3 separate regions of the Homo sapiens genome follow, and all the other regions are linked to region 3. Evidence: promoter capture Hi-C in 16 types of primary human blood cells and fetal thymus (Javierre and others, 2016). All regions are on one chromosome and are shown on one strand. The core of a region is centred on a gene start or on the middle of the fragment in contact, and the rest is flanking DNA. Distances in the headings are between cores, read along the strand shown. Region 1 overlaps RNPC3-DT (RNPC3 divergent transcript). Region 2 overlaps CLCA4-AS1 (CLCA4 antisense RNA 1). Region 3 holds the start of RWDD3 (RWD domain containing 3).

Region 1 (2,736 bases), core at 103-2,602, 8.3 Mb before region 3:
GCTTACTTGACATTTTCTCAATGTTGTGTAATAAGCATCTCAAAACTAACAGGCCTAAAACTGAGCTCTTGATAGTATTCAAAACTTTTCTTTCAGTTTTTCCCATCTCAGTTACCTGTGACTCCTTTATATCTTTTATATCTCATGCCTTGACATTCAGCAAATTCCCTTTATCTTACCTTCAAATTATATTCAAAATTTGACTATTTTTCACTGTTCCCACTGTTTCTACCATCCTTGTCCAAGCAGCCATGATCTATCTGGAATATTGTCATAGCCTCATGGCTAGTCTCCTACTTTTGCCCTTTCTGTCTGGACGACACAGTAAGACTCAACAATTATTTCATATATTCCTTTCCATTTCCCAACTCTCTTGTTGTTAGTTGGGACTATGTGATTCATTTTGGTAGATGGGGTGTTAATGAAAGCAACATGTGTCAATTCCAGAGTATTGCATGGAAGATTGGGTATGAAAACAGTGATCATGTAGGCCACATATTGAGGTGATAGAACCTCAAGCTAAACATAGCCTAGAGTACCAACTCACCACATCAATGACAGCTCCCCTACAGAATAACTTCCCTCCCACCAAACTTTGCATAAGTAGTAAATAACTTTTTTCTCTTAAAGGTATTGATAGCTTAGGACTAGTTTTTACCATGAAAAGTCCATTTTAACATGATTAAAAATATATTGCTTCTTCAATATATTTTTATCACAGCAGCTAGAGTGATTCTGTTAAATCTTCAAAACTCTGCAGTAGCTTTCCCCCTCACTTAGAGTAAATGCTGAAGTTATTTTGATCTGTGAGAATTTACATGATCTAACTCCTCCAGTATATTATTTTTATGACTTCATCTATTCTTCCCCTCTTCTTTCCCTCTGCTATAAATACACTGACCTTCTGGCTGTGCTTGAACACTTCAGACCCATAACTAAGACCTTTGCCTTTACCATTCTCTCTTTCAGGGATGCTGTTCCTACAGATATCTGCATGCTTAGCTCCCTGACTTTCTTCAGATGCTTACATATGACTTTCTCATTAAATTCTTCATTGTCAGTCAACACCATCTCTGCCTCCTCTATTCTCTTCCCATACTGGCAAAGGAAACAAAAACAACAATAACAACAACAACAACAAAAAACCTGAACACTAGATTTTTCAGTGTTTTGGTTGTCACTGTGTAATAAGCCATCCAATTACTTAGTAACTTAAAACAAACATCATCAAAGTCTTTTCTTTTTTCCCAAGGTAGAATTCATGTCTTCATCCCATTTGTTATTGTAGAACTTTTCACCTCTGTTATAAAATTATCATAAATATATTTTATTATAAATAATTATGTACATAATTTCATTATTACTAATAAGCTCCTTGAAGACAGGAATTTCTATATTCGTCTGTATATCTTCCAAGCATTAACATAGTACCTTACAAATAGATTAATGATCATTGAATGTTAAAATATATATTAGTGAATATTTGACATATGTTTTAAAACATTTATCAGTGAATAAATTAATGTTATTATCAAGAAAATAAAAAACACTGCTGACAACCAGGGATTACATATTCAGTGGTTTGCATGATGACTTTAGGAAACCTGTCTAAAGATTTCTATGCAAAATGATCAGAAAGTTAAAATGTCAATATTATTTTTGTTATTTATTGATAGATTAGATTATGTGTGGATCTCACACATAGTTATTTGTAGACTTAGTCTCTGCCTTTAAATAACAAATGAACAGAGGCAGGATTTATGTGAACTTTTGGCTATTGCAGGGGTAATTAGCCTTTTCTTATGGGGTATAGCTTGCTTATGTCTTCTGTTCTGGGATGGAATCTAGAGAAGATAGGGAAATAGCACCCGAAAAATATTCCTGTTCTAAAATACTTTCTTAACTCCATTTACAATTTGGAATCCATTTGGATGGCACATTTTTTTTAATGTATGCAACCTGGAAGGCTATTTTTCTTAATATAAACCTATACATTTAAGTATTAGTTGATATGGTTTGTCTGTGTCCTCACCCAAATCTCATCTTGAATTGTAACTCCCACAATTCCCACATTTTGTGAGAGGAACCCGGTGGGAGGTAAAGGAATCATGGAGGCGAGTCTTTCCCATGCTGTTCTTGTGATAGTGAATAAGTCTCATGAGATCTGATGGTTTTTAAAAAAGTTTCCCTGCACTAGCACTCTCGCTTTGGCTACTGCTATTCATGTAAGATGTGACCTGCTCCTTGCTTTCCACTATGATTGTGGAGCCTCCCCAGCTATGTGGAACTGTAAGTCCATTAAACCTCTTTTTCTTCCCAGTATCAGGTATGTCTTTATCAGCAGCATGAAAACAGACTAATACATTAGTCAATCAAAAAATTAAAATGTACTAAACATTTCAGAAGATGCCTAGAGAAAATGTTTCACCTGATAAATGGTACTGTCATAAGTAGTTGTTTTTCTGTAATGTGACAATGCTAGATTATCTTCTCTTACGTAAAAACGTCAGAAAATACAGCTGGTACCAAAAAATTGGAAAAAGAAAGACAAATTAATAGAAAAATGTGTTTAAAGAATATAAACAGGTGATTTTACAAAAAGGAAACCTGAATGGCCCATTAACATATGGAAAGGTGTTTAACCTTACTATTGGTAATGGGAATGCCAATTAGACCCCACAAGAATATACCAATTCTCAGTTCTCAAACTGGAAAACATTATACATAGCTATAAAA
Region 2 (2,776 bases), core at 1-2,500, 8.5 Mb after region 3:
GTGGTTGTGCAGCAGGCAATGAAATGAGCTTACATTCAAGCTTCCGTGTTTTACTGAAACAACAGTCACAGATGCAGTAGATGTTAAAGGTTGAAAGACGAGTGCAGTAAAAGCATTATGAGGACAAGAAGAAAACGTAAATATTTGTGTTGTTTCATTCTTTGTTGTGGTGGCAGAAACAGCCCCCTCTTTCTAAGGTAACTCCAATATAATGATCTCTCCCAGCTTTGAAATACTCCATGTCTGTTTCATTTTCCAGAAATATGGAAAAATGAATATATAATAAAAAACCCTATTTCTCATTTATTGTCTATTTTAGATCTTTATGTGGAAAAGCACTTACTCTCTTCCCAGAGCACTGTTTTTAAAGTAGGTATATTTGCCATAACCTATGCTCGTCTCTACAAAAGGATCACACCACCGTGTCCACCATTAAAGGGGAAATTCTTTAATGGTGGACACAGTGGTGTCCCTGAATCCTCATCCTCAAGTGTTTCAATCTTCCCAGTCTTGGGAAAACAACAATGTTACTTCTTTCTTTTGCACCCTCTGTAGCTGTAATCCTGTTTCCCCATTCTCCATAAAAGACTTACCTTATTTTCATATATCCTTATTCTTAGCCTTTGACACTTTTTTTTTTGAGACAGAGTTTTGCTGTGTCACCCAGGCTGGAGTGCAATGGTGTGATCTCAGCTCACTGCAACCTCTGCCTCCTGGGTTCAAGGATTCTCCTGCCTCAGCCTTCCAAGTAGCTGGGATTACAAGCATGCATCACCACGCCCGGCTAATTTTTTATATCTTTAGTAGAGACAGAGTTTCACCATGTGGGCCAGGCTGGTCTCGAACTCCTGGCCTCAAGTGATCCGCCTGCCACAGCCTCCCAAAGTGCTGGGATGACAGGTGTGAGCCACCGCACCCAGCTGATTCGCTTTCTTTACAGAGAAAATATAAATCATCACTCTGTTTGGCAGAAGCCTCTTCAACCAAATTTCCTTATTTCCACCTCCTGTTCTCTCCACACTCTTTCCTGCATCATTGCCAAATGTTTCAAAGGAATAGGTGTCTCAGGTGTTCTGAGTAGAGCCACTGCTCCCTTAATCTTGGCTGCACATCAGCATCACCTGGAGAGTTTAAGCAACCACTGATGCCTGGATCCAGTCCCAGAGTGTGGACTGGGCATTGGGATGTTTTAGGAGTTCCTCTAGGTGTTCTTAATGTGTGACCAAGGTTGAGAACTAATTTGTCACCCTCTAGAACTTGCTCCATCAGTCTCTACCCTTTGCCTACAGACTGATTCTACTTCTCTTACCAGATATCAGTCCCTTAAGGGCAGTGTCCGTTTCCTATTTATTTTTATATATTTTATGGTTTACACAGGCAACATAGTGAATTCCCAAATGATTTAGTAAGTGAAAAAAGTAATCAAATCAAGATGTTTACAGTGCTAAGCTCTTTTGTGACACCATCACCCCCAGCCTAAATTTCCAACTATTTATCCATAGATTCAATATTTCCAGTGGCAAGTCTGTTATAGTTTGCTTTTCCTGAAAATTCTTCTTTTCTTGGGTTTCCTACATTGATAAATTGAATCATACACACCAAATCACCTAAGCCAGAAATCTGAGTCCCCTTTGATTATTTCCTCTTATTTCCCACCACCAATTGGTCTATCCTGGCAATTTCTTCTCTGAAACTGTTTCCTATTTTTCATTTTCATCCTCTTTTTAAAAACAAATTTTTTAACTTGAAACAATTTACAAACTAAGAAAACTGTTGCAAGAATAGTACAAAAACTTCTGTGTACCCTTTGCCTAGAAACCCCACTCAAACTTTGCCAATTATTCCAATGTCTTTACAGCAAAAACGTCCCAGCCAAGAAAGATCATGTGCTGCATCCAGTTAGCTTGTTGCTCAATTCTCCTTCAGTCTGGATCAATTATTCAGGCTTTTCTTGACACTATTCCTTCCCCAGAGTTAGCCACTATTTTTAAATTGGTATGATTAATATCTGTTATGTTTTTGTACTTTCACTGAATTTATATGTATCTATGAATGGTACTACTATGTTATATTTTTAAACTGCATAAATGATATCATATAGATAAATCCTTTTGCATTTAGGGGTCTAATACTTCTATTTGTGTATTTGATGACCTTTTTGTTTGTGGATTGATTCCTTTTGCTTTGTACATTGATTCCTTTTAGCTTTTTTTTTTATGGCTCATTTTTAGTGATACAGAAAAAAATGTTTCTTCTGTCAGAGACCCCTAAGGTTATCACTGGCTAGTGAGCAATTTTTACATGAATTTCTTTCTTGGCTTAGAAGTTCTAAGATCATTCAGATATTATAAATTTGAACCCAGATTTGTGGGAGTACAAACTATGATTCAAATTCTCAAGGGAGAGAGATCTTCCTTGTTTTTTTCTCTTTCAGAGCTTGTGCCTTGACAGAAAAGCTTCTTACTATGCCAGAAGAAAAGCTTCTATCTAGTCTACCCTTTCATTGAGGGTACAGAATTTCATGGGTTTTTAACTTATGTGTGTGTGTGAGGTCATGAAGTTGGGGGACAGGGTGTGCTCACAGTTAACTGATTTCTGTTTGCACCAAGGGCCCAAGGTCTTATCACAAGTTACCGTGTATTTTTAAAAATTATAAAGGCCAGGCGCGGTGGCTCATGCCTATAATCCCAGCACTTTGGGAGGCTGAGGTGGGTGGATAACTTGAGGTCAGGAGTTCAAGACCAGCCTGGCCAACATGGTGAAACCCTGTCTCTAC
Region 3 (2,801 bases), core at 121-2,620:
GAGACCAGCCTGGCCAACATGGTGAAACCCCGTCTCTACTAAAAATACAAAAAATTAGCCAGTCATGGTGGCAGGCGCCTGTAGTGCCAGCTACTCGGGAGGCTGAGGCAGGAGAATGGTGTGAACCCAGGAGGTGGAGCTTGCAGTGAGCCGAGATCGCGCCACTGCACTCCAGCCTGGGGGACAGAACAAGACTCTGTCTCAAAAAAAAAAAAAAAAAAAAAAAAAGGCCGGGCGCAGTGGCTCACGCCTGTAATCCCAGCACTTTCGGAGGCCGAGGCGGGCGGACCACGAGGTCCGGAGATCGAGACCATCCTGGCTAACACGGTGAAACCCTGTCTCTACTAAAAAAAAAAATACAAAAAATTAGCCGGGCGTGGTGGTGGGCGCCTGTAGTCCCAGCTACTCGGGAGGCTGAGGCAGGAGAATGGCGTGAACCCGGGAGGCGGAGGTTGCAGTGACCCGAGATCGCGCCACTGCACTCCAGCCTAGGCGACAAAGCAAGACTCCGTCTTAAAAAATAAAAAATAAATAAAATAAAATAAATAAAATTCAGCCAGGCATGGTGGCACGCGCCTGTGATCCCAGCTACTCGGGAGGCGGAGGCTGCAGTGAGTCCAGATGGATCCACTGCACTCCAGCCAGGGCAACAAGAGAGACTCCACCTAAAAAAAAAAAAGTATCAGAAAAGCAATCAACTTGGAAATAGAATGCAGATAAAGTTGAGGTTGAGCACTGGATAAATGAAAAAGTTCAGTCAACAAACATTTACCTACTACCTACCAGGTGCCTGGAGTCATTACCAAACAGACCCTGCCCTCCTGCAACTTAAGACCTACAAATACCCGTGTAGAGTTAGAACCGGGGAGTGCTCTCGGGGGGGCCTAGGGCATAGTGCTTAGGAAGGACACAGAACAACGAGGGGGCGTCAGCACAGGCTTCTTTATAGGGTGAGATCTGAGGGGTGGGAGGCTGGGGGAGGGCCTGGGGGTGCGCACGCAGGGGCCCCCGGCTCCGGGAGCGGGACCGGCGGCAGAGGCCCCAGTGGGCCGCGCCGCTCTCTTAGTGTTTCTGGGGTCGCCTCACACTCCCGCCCGCTGCGACACCACTCCGGCCTCCGGGCGTGTCATTCCATCATTCAACTAACCCGGTCCCCATACGTGGGCCCAGGCGGGGTGCCCAGGCTCCGTGGTGGGGAGGAGACGCAAAGCGAACGCGGGTGGCCCCTGAGGGCGCCCTGTCCCTCCCGCGCGCGGGTAGTCACCTGAGCGGCTCAGCACCTCCCACTCGTGGGGCCTGCAGAAAATCGCGGCCAGGACCGAGAGCTCCTCCTGCACAGGCTCCGCCATGGCTGTGGGCCCCACCGCCTCAGCGCTTCCCCTTCCGCTGCCGCAGCCGCCGCCTCCACCGGCCAGGAGCAGCACTGCCCGCGGCCACCCGGGGGCGCCCCGCGCCTCCGCAACCGGGCGGGACGGGGGCGGGGCGAGACGGAGCTGGGGCGAAGCGAAACGGGACGTGGGCGAGGCGAGTCCGGGCGAGGGTCAGGGCAGACGGGGCGGGCGGGGCCCTTAGAAGTTCCGCCCAGAAGCTCCTGCTCAGTAACTACAGACGCGAAGCTCAGCCTCTCGGTTTGGGAATTTTCTTGGAGGCCGAGGCCCTGCGCCTCTGTCTGCACCCAAGGCGACCGCCCAGCTTACCCCCGGCTCTTCTGAGCACAGGGAGGCCTCCCAGCAAAGCCTGAACCCTCTAAGTTTAGCTGCAGGCTTCGAACCCCGACCGTCCCCGCCGAGCCTTGGGCTGCTGAGGTGGGGATGAACTGGGCGAAAGACACTTGGGAGTTAGGAAGAAACAAACAAGCAGGGAAGTGACCAGGAGACAAGGTGAGACTTTGCCCGGCTCAGGTCTGAACTGAGTGTTGGAGATAACCACAGTTAACAAAATAAACAAAATTATTCGCCCCCGTGGAGCTGTTAGCAACCCTGGTGCCTGGGAAGCCTGGAAGAGGCTCGGGTTAGTAACAACCTCCAGGATGCCCTCCGAACTGGTACTGGCGCCGGGACTCTAGACAAGGTCCAGATTCCCGGGCCCTTCCCCTTACGGGTGCAAAAAGGGAGGGTCAGGACCTGCCAGTCCTGGCTTCAGGATGTTGACTGGACGGACCTGGACTCATGGGAACTGTGCGCCAAAGTCCTGGGAGCAAAGTGTCATAACGCTCCTCGTTTGTCTCTTGCCTTCACAGGAGACAGCCCTGCTGCAAGCGGCCAGTGGGAATCCTTGGCCTTTGGGGGTATGATCCAAGAATGTAAACGCTAGCTTTTCAGTGTTTTCGATTTCGTGATATTCAATGCATACAATACAATGTGACTCTTGAAGCTTAATAATAAAATTATCATTCTTGAGCCCAGCACCTAAATTTTAAAATGTGAGCAATACCAATAGGGTAACAGAATAAGCAATCCATTCTGTTTTGACTATAGTGAACAAGATTACAAGACTTATCTGCAGTTAGGTCTGTCTCTCGGATGTTTGCCTGGTCTTTTTGCTGTTCAAATAACAGTTTAAAATTTGGCAGTCCCCACAAGCAGCTGGTCTTGCTCATGGAGTTCTCACAACTTTTGTTTGTATGAGAAATCACATTTCATGAGATAAATCTGGGAATTTAGGTTGTTAGGCAGTGACTCCAGTCACTGACCTACGGAAGTCAGAACAAAGTTGGCTGATTTTAAAACCCTGCATCCATTCACCATTACCATTCCCGCTGTTGGTAAAAAAGGAATCTGATAAAGGAAAAGATACTGGCT

What was found. The method cuts DNA at HindIII sites, captures the fragments that hold promoters and counts their contacts. A CHiCAGO score of 5 or more calls a contact.
Region 1: a fragment that was not itself captured here is called in contact with the fragment with the promoter of RWDD3 in region 3 in 2 of 17 cell types (total CD4 T cells and non-activated CD4 T cells); the score reaches 7.5 in total CD4 T cells.
Region 2: a fragment that was not itself captured here is called in contact with the fragment with the promoter of RWDD3 in region 3 in 2 of 17 cell types (total CD4 T cells and activated CD4 T cells); the score reaches 7.1 in total CD4 T cells.

What each region holds. Positions count from the first base shown.
Region 1 is chr1:103,518,287-103,521,022 of GRCh38, reverse strand. All of the region lies in intron 1 of RNPC3-DT (RNPC3 divergent transcript), which reads left to right. Among named protein-coding and RNA genes, the nearest start is that of RNPC3-DT, 5.9 kb to the left of the region's middle. The HindIII fragment of the contact is 5,087 bases long and covers 1-2,736 here.
Region 2 is chr1:86,701,028-86,703,803 of GRCh38, reverse strand. It overlaps CLCA4-AS1 (CLCA4 antisense RNA 1), which reads left to right. Exons shown (of 5, transcript NR_135837.1): 1 at 1-197. Among named protein-coding and RNA genes, the nearest start is that of CLCA4-AS1, 2.1 kb to the left of the region's middle. RefSeq lists an enhancer at 1-24. The HindIII fragment of the contact is 2,416 bases long and covers 43-2,458 here.
Region 3 is chr1:95,232,779-95,235,579 of GRCh38, reverse strand. RWDD3 (RWD domain containing 3) reads right to left here and starts at 1,370. Exons shown (of 4, transcript NM_015485.5): 1 at 1,265-1,370. The coding sequence starts at 1,349. The region is part of intron 7 of TLCD4-RWDD3 (TLCD4-RWDD3 readthrough); the gene reads right to left. It overlaps RWDD3-DT (RWDD3 divergent transcript), which reads left to right and starts at 1,598. Exons shown (of 4, transcript NR_125949.1): 1 at 1,598-1,880. RefSeq lists silencers at 910-1,089, 1,300-1,629. The HindIII fragment of the contact is 4,366 bases long and covers 1-2,375 here.